2 separate regions of the Homo sapiens genome follow, and region 2 is linked to region 1. Evidence: promoter capture Hi-C in human tissues and cell types (Jung and others, 2019). All regions are on one chromosome and are shown on one strand. Each heading gives the region's core, a stretch centred on a gene start or on the middle of the fragment in contact. The rest is flanking DNA. Distances are from core to core; before and after follow the strand shown. Region 1 holds the start of PAK1 (p21 (RAC1) activated kinase 1). Region 2 overlaps MYO7A (myosin VIIA).

Region 1 (5,681 bases), core at 2,055-4,554:
TCAATGTTTGATATTAGAGGTGTTTTGGTCTTTATTTAGAAGTTTGATGATGTCTTGTGACCAGAAATATGCCACAGGAACTCAACTCTTATTTATATCAATTAGCCAGCCTATGGTAAAATTGGTTTTGTTATACATTGTTTTGCCTAAAGTTGCAGAACCCATTGATGGCGTTAAGTGAGGACTTACTGTATACACTTATCCTACTTATTTATTCCACTTCTAGCCCATCTCTGATTTCAGCTGCAGCTTTGGTGGACAGTTTCACTTCTCATCCTGCTAGCAATTCCTAGCATAGAGCAGTCACCTTTGATTAGAGATTGTATTAGTTTCTTATGGATGCTGTAACAAATTATCAAACACAAAGTGGGCTTAAAACAATACACATTTATTTTTATTTTTTTATTTTATTTTTTGAGATGGAGTTTCACTCTTGTCTCTAGGCTTAAGTGCAATGGCGCAATCTCGGCTCACAGCATCTTTACCTCCTGGATTCAACCGATTCTCCTGCCTCAGCTCCCGAGTAGCTGGGATTACAAGCATGTGCCACCACGCCCAGCTAATTTTGTATTTTTAGTAGAGATGGGGTTTCACCATGTTGGCCAGGCTGCTCTTGAACTCCTGACCTCAGGTGATACACCCGCCTCGGCCTCCCAAAGTGCTGGGATTACAGATGTGAGCCACTGTGCCTGGCCAACAATACACATTTATTATTTCACAGTTCTGTAGTTCAGAAGTCCTAAATGGATGTCAGTGGGCTAAAATTAAGGTATCATCAGGATACCATCTCTTCCTTTCCAGAGGCTCCAAGGGAGGATCCATTTTCTTGCCTTTTCCATTTTCCAGTCTGCTCCCAAAAGCTGGAGAGTCCCTTTCCCCAAATCCTCAATTTACTCACATCTGCAGAGTCCTTTTGTCATGGAAGGTAACATATTCATAGTTCCCAGGGATTGGAATGTGAACATTCCATTGGATGAGCCATTATTCTGCCTAGTGCAGAGATCACGAAAAGACAATCCAGATTAGAGTCAATTTACTGGGTTAGGATCCTGGGTTAAGTTACTTAACCCCTCTGTGCCTCAGTTCCCGCATCAATAAGATGGGTGAGGATAACAACAGTATCTACCGTAGAGGGTAGAGGTTTAAAGACAGTGTTTGTAAAGTGCTCAGAACAGTACCTGGCACATAGAAAGAACAATAGGAACATTTATTAAATACATTTTTTTTGAGACAGAGTTTTGCTCTTGTCACCCAGGCTGGAGTGTGGTGGTGCAATCACAGCTTCCTACAACCACCGCCTCCTGGGTTTAAGCAATTCTCCTGCCTCAGCCTCCTGAGTAGCTGGGATTACAGGTGCCTGCCACTACGCCCGGCTAATTTTTGTATTTTAGTAGAGATGGGGTTTCGCCATATTGGCCAGGCTGGTCTCAAACTTCTGACCTCAGGTGATCTGGCTGCCTTGGCCTCCCAAGTGCTGGGATTACAGGCGTGAGCCACCGCGCCTGGCCTTATTAAATATATTTTAACAACATATTGATACTTAGGTATATGTCAAGCACTGTTTTAGGTGCTGAGGATATGGAAAGGAATATGACTTGGAACTCAAGAAATTAGATACACAAATGCAGTTACTTCCATAAAAGGCATAGAAATACTATAGAATTACAGTTTTGTTAAGGCTTAGGGAAACTTTAGAAATATTAGTCAAATGAATATGAATATGAATATGAATGACATTTGAGCTCAGCTTTGTACAATGAATAGGTGTTGGCCAGTCAGCTAAGTAGGGAAGAGCTTGAAGACATGAAGAAATGTGTATTCAAATAACGTTAATATTTCAGTGTGCTTGGAGCAAAAAATAAATGATGTGAGACAAAGCTAGAAAGGCTAGTGTAAGCAGTCAGGTAATAAAGTGCCAAGTTCAGGAGTTTGAACTTTATCCTGAAAGCAATAAAATCCTTTCGGTGTTTAAACGGGAGGACATCATCAGATTTGTGCTTTTATAAGGCTACTCAGGTAACTAGTGAGAAAAATAGATTGAGTTTGAAGAGACTAAAGGTTGCTCCAGTTGTTCAGGTGGTGGTAGTAGAAGACGACACAGGCAAGGACTTGAAAAATATTTAGGAGAAGCTACAAGACTTGGTGTCCAACTTGATATGGATGTTGAGAGAGGAAGAACGGGGAGCTATTAGTATGTCTAGGTTCCTGGCTTAGGGGATTGTTGAATGGGTGGCCCATTCATTGAGAACGGAAAGGAACGTAAGAAGCAATTTTGGGGGGGAAATAATAATAATAGCCAACATTCTAAAGGGCTTGTTACTATTACCATGGTAAAACTGAGGCTTAGGAAGACCTAGTTAAGGTACTACTTATTATTACAGAAAAATTACGGCTTAGAAATGTCAAGGTCCTATCACTAATATTTGAATAGCTAGGATTTCAAGCAAGGCAACCTGATTCCGGACTCTTAGCCTTTCTAATGCTGTCTCAGTTTCGCACATGTTGAATCTGAGGTACGAAGAGTATGCAGGTAATGCTGCTCGGGAGGTATTGGGAAATACACAATCTGAGCTCAGGAGAAAGAAAGCTTTGGGTCGAAAGTACCCTCCACGGTAGGGGAAAAAACGTGAAAGGAAGCCCATTCTTTTCGTATGTCAGTTCACATTAGTTCAAACATCTCCGTTATAATTTCTTTGTCTTCCTCCCACCCCTGCCCCCTCTCCCACAGAAAGAAAACATAATACATGTCTGGCTGTGAGATCACACGACATCGGATAGTTTTCAAATTCAGCCCTTGACAACGAGCTCATAGATGCGGTGGTGCTTTGTTAACCTGAAAAGGACCCTCAGCGCCGGAAGTTAGCCGTCTTTCTCCATCCTGACTACTACAGTAGCCCTCCCAGAAATCGTCCCAAAATTGTCTGATAGAAAGGCTGCACGGAAACAACCCGCCACGGACAGCGGACCGAGAACAGTGACGCGACGCGATGACGTCACGCAGCAAGCGGGTGATTCCCCAGCCTCTGGCGTCACGCGCCGATGACGTAATCCCAGGCGTTCGCCCTCATGCGGGCCAGGGTTTGGCCTCGCTCCCACGGGTCGGTCAGGCCCTCCCCGCCCCCTCTCACCTGCGGGAGGCGGGGCGGGCACGGCTCCACCGGAGCCGCAGCCGCCGCCGCCGCGCCGGGGAGGGGGAGTGGGGGAGGGGGAGGGGGAGAAGGGGAAAGGGCAGAGGGGAGGAGGAGGCGGGAGGAGGAGGAGTAGGGGAGCCAGTGAACTAGGCGGTCAGGCCTGCCGGGCGGCGTACAATAGCGCGGCTGTGGGCGGGGGAGGCTGCCCTCCCGCGGCTGCAGCCGGAGCCGAAGGTGGTGGCTGCACAGTAGACGCCCCCTCACGGCTTCCCCCACACGCTCCCGCCCCCTCGCTCGCCCATCGCGCTTCCCTCACAGGCTCTGCAGTCCTCCCCCACAGACGCCTTCCCCCTTGGACTCTCATTCCCTTTTCCACGGAGCCCCGCGCTTTCGTGAGCCCCCTCGAGGAACCTGGTCTCCGCATCCAGTTACCACCTCCTGCCTCAGAGGCCATCTGAGCCCTTCGCACCTCGCCCCTCAGTCCCCCCTTCCCCCCCCGCCCGCGTCGCCTCGCTCCCTCCCGCCCCCCCATCATCCCTTCCCTCGCAGTTCCCCTGTCCTGAGGGGAGCCCCGCCACGGGCAGCGCGGCGGCGGCGGCAGGAGGGAGAAAGTGAAGCGGTAGCTCGCGCACACTCGCGCCCTCACTCCCGGCTAGGCGGCACCCACCGCCGGGAGGAGGAGGAGGAGCCGAGAGGAGCTGAGCGAGCGCGGAAGGTGAGAGCGGGCCTACCGCCCAGTACCCCTCGCGTCCCGGGCTGCCAGGGCTGGGGCGCGGGGGTGGGGACGGGTGGAGTGGGGGTCTGGGCCCATTTATTTCGCGTTGCGGGGCCGGGCGCCTGGGCGGGAGGAGGCGCCAGGTAAGGTGAGGCGGGCGGCGCCCCGCGAGGCCCGCTCCCGTCGGGCCAACAAAGGCCCCCTGTGCGCGTACCGGCGGGGTCGCGGGTCTCAGACGCCGGGCGATTCGAGAGACCTGGGAGAGGGAAGGGGCGGGGCGGGGCCAGGCCAGGCTGGAGCCGGGAGGCCACACGAGTACCGGTCCGGGACCGAGTCCGTCCCGAACTTCGCAGTCCTGCGGCGCTCACCCTGTCCCGCTACGAGGAGGCACAGCAAAGCGGCGCCCAGTTCCTTCTGCATGGAATAAATGACCCCTTCCAGGCTTGGACAGTCACCTTTAGGGTTCTACTCCCTGAAAAATAAGGGCTGGTAGGACTTGACTTACGCAGCCCCTCCCCCACCCCGGAATATTCTGTAACTTGGGAAGTGAAAAACAACCGGGGAAGGAGATTTATAGTTATTTTATGTTCATTATTACGTTTGAAAAGACATGATTGTTGTAGCCTTCGCTATCCTATTTCAGCAGTACACATTACTGGGAGTGTTTTGGAAGAATACTTGAGAAGTAGTGGGTGTGGCGTTGTGAGCAACGTCCTTGGTTTTTAAACCCCTTGGATAATTGTTCTACTGTTACAAAAACTGTGAACAGTGAAGGGAAGGGTTAGTTCCGTGGTTACTAATAAAAATTCAGATTCATTAGTCTTGACTTTAAGAATTGTTCCTGAGAACAATCTTTAATTTTGCCTCCTACATTTTTGGGTTCTCTTTCAACTCTGTCAGGAGAAAGTAGGAATTATCAGTACAGATACCTCATCTCTCTTACCCTGTGGCTTCATCTACTTCTTGTGTGACCTTGAGCAGGTCACTTCCAGCCTTAAAAGCTCCAGAAGTTTGGTTTTATGCCCCAAAACGGGCAAGTAGCAAGCACCGGACTCAGCTTTCAAGAGTCCACTGAAGAATTCCCACACTGTGAAGTCTTTGCTGGCCTCCATCCTGTCTCTCCTCTTACAGACAGAGCTGATTTCTTCCCATTGGCCCGGTGGGATTTCTACCACAGCACTTACAACATTTTGGTTCCTATTTGGAAAATTCTAAGTCAGGTGCATATAAAAACTCCCCACCTCAACTAGAAACTATGCCTTTCAAAAAGGGTTTTGGGAACATTGACCCTGAAAACTTCCCATACTTTCCCTGAAGCTTATCCATACTCTTTAACTACATGAGCTCATGGGTCTACCTTGGTAAATTTGCTTATTCAGTCAATTCGTTTATCCAACATTACTGGAGTTCGGAGAGCTACTATGTTTCAGGCCTCTTGCTAAGGCTATGGGGATTCAGTCTATTAAGATATTCCCTGTCTTCAAAGAGCTCAAAGTCTAATGGGTGAGGTAGACAAGTAAACAATGAAGGTCTGCCCTAATCTCTGGGGGACTCCAGTTGTACAGGTAGTAGTGTGCAATAATTGAGGCTGCTGGACCTGTTTTACAAGTCTTCTCTTGGCCAAAGTGAGTCCTGCAGGGAAGGTGACCTGCCTCATCCATAACAGGGCATTTGGTAAAAAGCTTGTTCAGTTCAATTCAATATACATTTACTAAGCACATGTTTTGAGTCCCTGTGCTAGGTTTGAAGGAAGCAGTGCCTCAAAGGAAGGTACTGTGCATCCAGAAAGATTTCTGTAAAACAAAACCTTACCACATCAGCGCCCCCTACCCCTG
Region 2 (6,414 bases), core at 2,250-4,749, 310 kb after region 1:
CCTTGTAGGGACCCACAGTGCCCCAAAGGAGCTAGTCCCAGGGGCCTCTGGTCTTTGTAACACCTGTTCCCTCCCCTCCAGCCCCTCCAGCCTCCTTGCCCTGCCTGAGGTGCACCTGGGATGCAGGCATAGGCTTGCAAAGCACCTCAGGGCATCTGTGCTTGCTGTCCCCTCTCCCTGCAAAGCCCTTCCTCTGGAATGTGGCTGGGCACATTCTTCCTCACCTCCTGCTCAGCTTCTCAGGCAGGCCTTTCCTGACCGCACCCACCACACCACTGAAAATCACAGAGTCCCACCGCCGCATTCCTCCCTCCTTAATCTTTCCCCATACTACATCTCACCATCTGATACACTGCAGGTTTTACTTATTTATTGGCTTTCTATCTATTTACTATTATTTTTGAAGCAAGGTCTCACTCTGTCGCCCAGGCTGGAGCACAGTGGTACGATCTTGGCTCATTGCAGCCTCGACCTCCCAGACTCGGCCTCCTGTCTCAGCCTCCTGAATAGCTGGGACTACAGGTGTGTACCACTGTGCCTAGCTAATTTTTATATTTTTTGTAGAGATGGGATTTTGCCATTTTGCCAAGGCTGGTCTTGAACTCCTGAGCTCAAGCAATCTGCCCACCTCGGCCTCCCAAAGTTTTGGAATTACAGGTGTGAGCCACTTCACCTGGCCTTGGCTTTCTAACTATCCACTCTTCTGCTGGAACTTAAGTTCCATAAGGACAGAGACTTTTTCTGTTTTATTCACTGCTACGTCCCCAAGACCCATGACAATGCCTGGCATATAGTAGGTACTCAATAAAGGTTTGTAGGTAGCCATCTGGGTTTCTGATTTGGTTTTATTTCATTGGGGGGAAAGGCTGTCCTTCCTGGTATTTGCTGTTTTCTGGGATAATCTGCAGATGGGGATGGGGTAAAGGTGGAAGTGAAAAGTTCAAAGGCCAATGTCAAATGCTCCCCAGAAAGGATCTGAGAGGAAGACCCCAGAGCGTGACATGAAAGGGGCTGGGAAGTCTCAGGCAGGAGGCCACCTGCATAGAGTGAATAGGTGTCTCTTGGGCTCAGGGCCCCAGGACATATGACTGGGCTTAGGCATTAATCAGGGGCTACTCAATATCCTAGAAGAGCTGCCTTTATCACAGCTGGGCTGGGCCCTTCACCAGCAAGGGCTGTGGTGGGGCTGCCCACGGCTGCCCCAGGGAGGCAGATGTAGGAGTCAAAGGCTGAAAACTCAGGGCTCGGGGATCTGCCGATGATGGGAGTGCAGATCACTCACTGCAAGAGGTGGCGTGGGCTTCCATCCTGATGGGAGCATTGCCACACTAGTACACTGTCATTGAATAAACTGTGACTTAATGTCTCACAATTAACCAAGCTGATTTTCATCTTCCTTTTAAAAAGCCATCGTGTTTCTAGCAGTTACGAAGTATGTTTTCTTTCCTAAGATGTGACGTTTATGGAGACAGCACAGTAAATTTTTAAAAATTAAAATTATTTTTTAAAAAGCAGGGACTTGGAAAACTTCACTTTAGCCCTCGCTTGTATATGGCCTTAGACAAGTCCCTGAGGCAGGCCTGCACTCGAATCCCTGTTGTGTCACAAGGTATGTGACCTCAGTGAGCACCTTGGCCTCTCTGGGCCCCAGTTTCTTTCTTTTTTTAAATTTTAGAGACAGGATCTCACTCTGTCACCCACGCTGGAGTGCAGTGGCACAGTCACAACTCACTGCGGCCTCCAACTCCTGGGCTCAAGGAATTGTCTTTTCTCAGCCCCCACTCCAAGTAGCTGTGACTACAAGTGCTCACCCCCATGTTCAGCTAATTTTAAATTTTTTTGTAGACACAGGGTCTCACTATGTTGCCCAGGCTGGTCTTGAACTCCTGGCCTTAAGCAATCCTCCTGCCTTGGCCTCCCAAAGTGCTGGGATCATAGGTGTGAGCCACCACACCCAGCCTGGGCCCCAGTTCTTCACCTGTAAAGTGGGAGTAATAGTAATTACTCGCCAGGTTGCAGTGGGGAGTGAATGAGGTGATAAATATAAGTGCTTAGCTCATAGCCTGGCTCAGAAGAGGTGCCCAGTAGATGTAACTGGTATCAGATTGGTCACTGTTGTATCCTAATTCTCTGTTCCTAAAACTTCTTCTGGAGGGGGCCATTTCTGGAGACTCTGGGCTCCTGCACTTTGACCTCTCCATGATTTCTCAGTAAGTGGGTTCTAATCCCAGGAGTAGGAAACTCGAGCAGGAAATATCATGGAGTGTTCCCAGATGCCTCAAGGAGCTTTGAAAAGACAGAGGAGAGAGAAGAACGGGTAGGAGGGGAAGATGGGGTTTAACCAGAGTATGCCCAAGACCAGGAGGAATGGATGGGCCCAGCGAGGGGCCAGCAGGGCTACAGGAGAAGAGGAAAGAGTGGGAGAGGCCAGAGCTACGCCCGTCTCAGCAGTACAGCCACCTTACAGCACAGGGCTTTCGGGTGGGGACTCTCCTGGGTGCCAGTGCTTCGAGTGCCTGGGACTCCCCTCTCTCAGGTTGGCCTTGTGTGCACCCCAGCAGTCGGCCAGCCTACAGTGTTGGTCTGTCAGGGTGAGTGGGGGCGGGAGGTTCTTCCAGGGCTGATCTGTGGGCAGAGGGGAGAGGCCACCATCCAGACAAGCTCCTTGCTCCTGACATGCCCTGTCTACTGCTGGGGGTGTGTGGATTGTTTCAGAACTCTGCCAGGCAGGCAGGAAGGAAGAAGGACTCAGCACCAGGCCAAAGTGGAAGGATGTCAGTATTTGGCAGAGAGGAAATGGAGGGCTGAGGAGAGAAAAGGAGGCAAAGGGGTTGGCAGCACCATGCTGTTGCTAAGGGGTACCCAGCACCTTTGGGGTCTAGAGCACCGTGGGAGCCACGGCCTGAACCAGAGTTCAGGATGCAACAGGGCTGCTGTTTCAGACCTAAGGAGGTCCGGGGAATGGTGTCTCCTAGTCCCAGCTCCCTGTCAGAATGCTGTTACCTGGAATGAGTCATATCCCCTCTCTCAGCCTCAGTCTCTCATCTGCAAAATGCAGAAAATGCTACCTGTCCCTCCTGCCTTGCAAGGTTATCTGAGGATCTGGTCAAGGCATGGCCATAGGCGCCCACCAGGGCCTGGTGGAAGGACCGGGGATTGACGCCTCCAAGGGGCCTTAGGAGACCTGCGTTCGAGTCCCCACTCTGTCCCCGGTTCCCAGAGGACCCTGGGCAAGCCTTGCCCCTCTCCTAGGACTCAGTTTCCTCCTTGAAGAAAGAAATGCCTGCAGCACACACAACTCAAAAACCAAACACAAAAATCACTCCACAAACCACTCCACACAAAAACACACTCCAAAAAAAAGGAGAAAAAGCCCAGCCCTTTTCCCGAGTCTCAGCACAGTGGGAGCTCGGGACCAAGCCCCACCCAGGCCGCTGAGGCCTCTCCCGCCATCCTCAGCCCCGGGCTGGGGTCTTTTACCTTCGCAGCAGCTGCTGAGTGGCGCAGAGTACCCGATGAATAACCACAGAGAAACTACAACAGGAACCACGGTGCAGGGTGAGATGGGGAGAGGAGGGGCAAGGAGAATGTGGTGGGTCACAAAACCACTCAAAATCCACCATGGAGAGAGGGGGACCCTCAGGGAGAGGTCTGGGGTCCTGGAAGCTCTGTGATGCCTTGGTGGTCCTGAGGGCAGGGGACAGCCAGGCACCTAGACAGGCATGGAAGGGGCAAGGACTGTCTTCTGCGTGAGGACTTCATGCACCCTCCAGGAAGCCATGGGACAGGAGGAAAATATGAAATAAAAAGGCATGCAACCCAGCAGGAAAAAATCCACTAGACCCTCACCCTAGGGCCTAAGGAAAGGCGGAGGGGGCTGTTCTCCCACTGTCTGATGGGGTCTGGGGCTGGCACAGACATGCCCTCTGTGCCAGCTTCTCTGAGTATCCACACCCACCCCACATCCTTCAAGCTGGATGTGCTCTTTCTGCCCATGCTCTCTTTAGCAGCTGGATTCCAGGGGGTGAACCCCCACAGTAAACCGATCCCTGACCGGTTCTGCTCTGTGACCTCTCAGGTGACCCTTCTCTGGGCCTTGCACCCCAGCCATATCCCCAGTTAGTACAATAAGAGGACCAGATGGGAACACCTTTGAGGCCCCTCCAGGCCCCTCCTGGAGCCACAGCAAAGCTCCATACCCATTATGTGGCCAGGGGGCTCAGCTGAAGCTGTTGGACAAGGGCAGGGCTTAGACTCAGGCCTGGCCCGTGGGGGCCCTTCCCGAACAACAGAAACCGCACCCGGCTTACCATGGCGACATCGGCCTGGAAGATCTGCTTGATGAACTTGTTCCTGGAGGAGTGGACCAGCTGGATAATGTCCCCATGCAGGGTGTCTCGGTTCTTCTCCAGGAAGCCTGCAAGCAGCAAACAGCAGTCACCTCTCACCAGCTCTGGCAGGCCCTCCCCAAACCCATAACATCTGAGCCAGGAGGACCCTCAAAATCCACCTAGTTCCACCACATCCATTTCATGACGGGGGCCCTGAGGCCTGGAGGGGACAGAGACTTGCCCAAGATCATAGAGAAAGTGAGGGGCCATCTCCCCAGTGACACAGCTCCCCTCTTCCAGGCCTGTTCAAGAAGGGCAGGGGGGTCTCAGTCTCCAGGAGAAAGCAGGCCTCCTTCCTGACCAACCACCCCAAAGCTACCATGAGTCTTTTGAACTAAGATATCAAAAGGCCTTGTTAAGTAAGTGTGTCACCTGGGAGAGAATGCATGTTGATCTGGTACAAGCTAATATTAAAGGAATTCATTAAAACCACCTTGTGGTTGGACAGTGTGTTATGTTTTATGAAGACCCCTCACAGCTCCTTCTATGTGGGACAGGTAGGGATTACCTCCTCTGCCCCCAAAGGGAGAAAACTGATGTTCAGAGAAGCTAAGTGAGTTGTCTAATGTCACACAGTAAGCCATGGGCAGAGTTAAGACTTGAACCCAGGACGCTGGTGCAAAGGAGATTCTCTGCACCCAGAACCCAGGATCCCCAGGAGCCTAGGGAGATTCCCCTGCACCACACAGACCCCAGAGGAGGCTGCCACTCACAGGGACCGAGGAGTTGGAAACTGGTTAATGGGGAGGGGGTTGTAGAGTGGGGCAAGAGACGGGGTGTCCAAGGACTGCAGATGCCAGAGGGGGAGTGCCACTGCACAGAGCAGGACATAGGCTGCCCATGAATGGCGGACAGCACAGAGATCCAGTGCTAGGCTGCCCGCCTGGCACCTGGGGAGGGGCGAGTTGCAGGGGACACACAGGAATGGAGGGTGGGCTTTGCAGTTGGGATGTAATTGGGTTCTCACTAAAGCTCTGACAGACTCACTATGTTATCCTAGAAAGACCCCCATTCTGGGACTCCAGTTTCCTTAACTGTTGGATGGGAAGGATAGTGCCTACAAGCTTGCTTCTCTTCAGAACACCTAATACCACCCACTTCATAAATCCACATCATAAATAAGACGCTGTATTGAAAAGGTTCTTTGTGAACTAGAAAATGCTGGTAGAATTCTTTCCAGTCATTTAGTCTTGTTTAACAACCTTAGGCAAGCCATTTCCCTTTCTGGGCTTCAGTTACCAATTCTATTAAGGTAGATGACCCTTATGTTCCCTCCAGACCTGGCGTTCTATAGTTTTACAACTCAGCATAGAGATTATTCAATTTTCACTTCTGTATCCTCAGCAACGTCATGAAGCCTGGTACATAATAGATGCTAAGAGCATATTGGTTGAACTGAACTGAGAAATACAATCCTCTATTACTCCAAATGAAAGACCAATTTGTTTGCGTGACAGTCCTTCAAACTTAATGTCTGCTTCCTTCTTCCAACAATAAGGTTGGATCTCACAGTCCAATATTGTAAGGGAATCTGAGCCGCCATCAGATTCTACCACTGCAGCCTGGCTCACTGATACACTGCTGACTTCTGGACCAGTTCAGCAACGGAGTAAGAAACGGATGGGTTATAGCATGTTTGGATATCTTTGGCCTTTTTTAAAAAAAAATTAATTTTTAATTTTTTGTGGTACATAGTAGGTATAGATATTTATGGGTTAATTGGCCTTTGACTATGCATGGGACCCCTTGAGGCTGTATGGCAGGGCTCAGGGTAGACACAGCCCATAACTAATGCCAATTTGTGGTTGGCCCTTTACACCAGGGTGGGTGGGGAGGGATTGGCAAGGGCAGTCTGCAGTCTTTTGACAAACCCTTAAGAATTCCAGGTGAGATAAGCCTGTGTTCTGACCACTCTTCTTAACTTCCAGCTTTAACGTGAACCCAATTGCCTGTCCCCAGGGGAAAAGAAGATGCACGGTCTTCAAAGCTCATGCTTGGTCTTGTTGCTGAGAGTCTTAGGGGG

Evidence for each region. The method cuts DNA at HindIII sites, captures the fragments that hold promoters and counts their contacts. A contact is called where the count stands out against the background at its distance.
Region 2: a fragment that was not itself captured here is called in contact with the fragment with the promoter of PAK1 in region 1 in 1 of the 25 tissues and cell types used here (thymus).

What each region holds. Positions count from the first base shown.
Region 1 is chr11:77,471,717-77,477,397 of GRCh38, reverse strand. PAK1 (p21 (RAC1) activated kinase 1) reads left to right here and starts at 3,304. Exons shown (of 15, transcript NM_002576.5): 1 at 3,304-3,846. RefSeq lists silencers at 3,070-3,429, 3,660-3,709, 3,730-4,039 and an enhancer at 3,280-4,196. The HindIII fragment of the contact is 5,525 bases long and covers 1-5,346 here.
Region 2 is chr11:77,164,059-77,170,472 of GRCh38, reverse strand. MYO7A (myosin VIIA) reads right to left here. Exons shown (of 49, transcript NM_000260.4): 15 at 4,311-4,417. Among named protein-coding and RNA genes, the nearest start is that of MYO7A, 39 kb to the right of the region's middle. The HindIII fragment of the contact is 9,813 bases long and covers 1-6,414 here.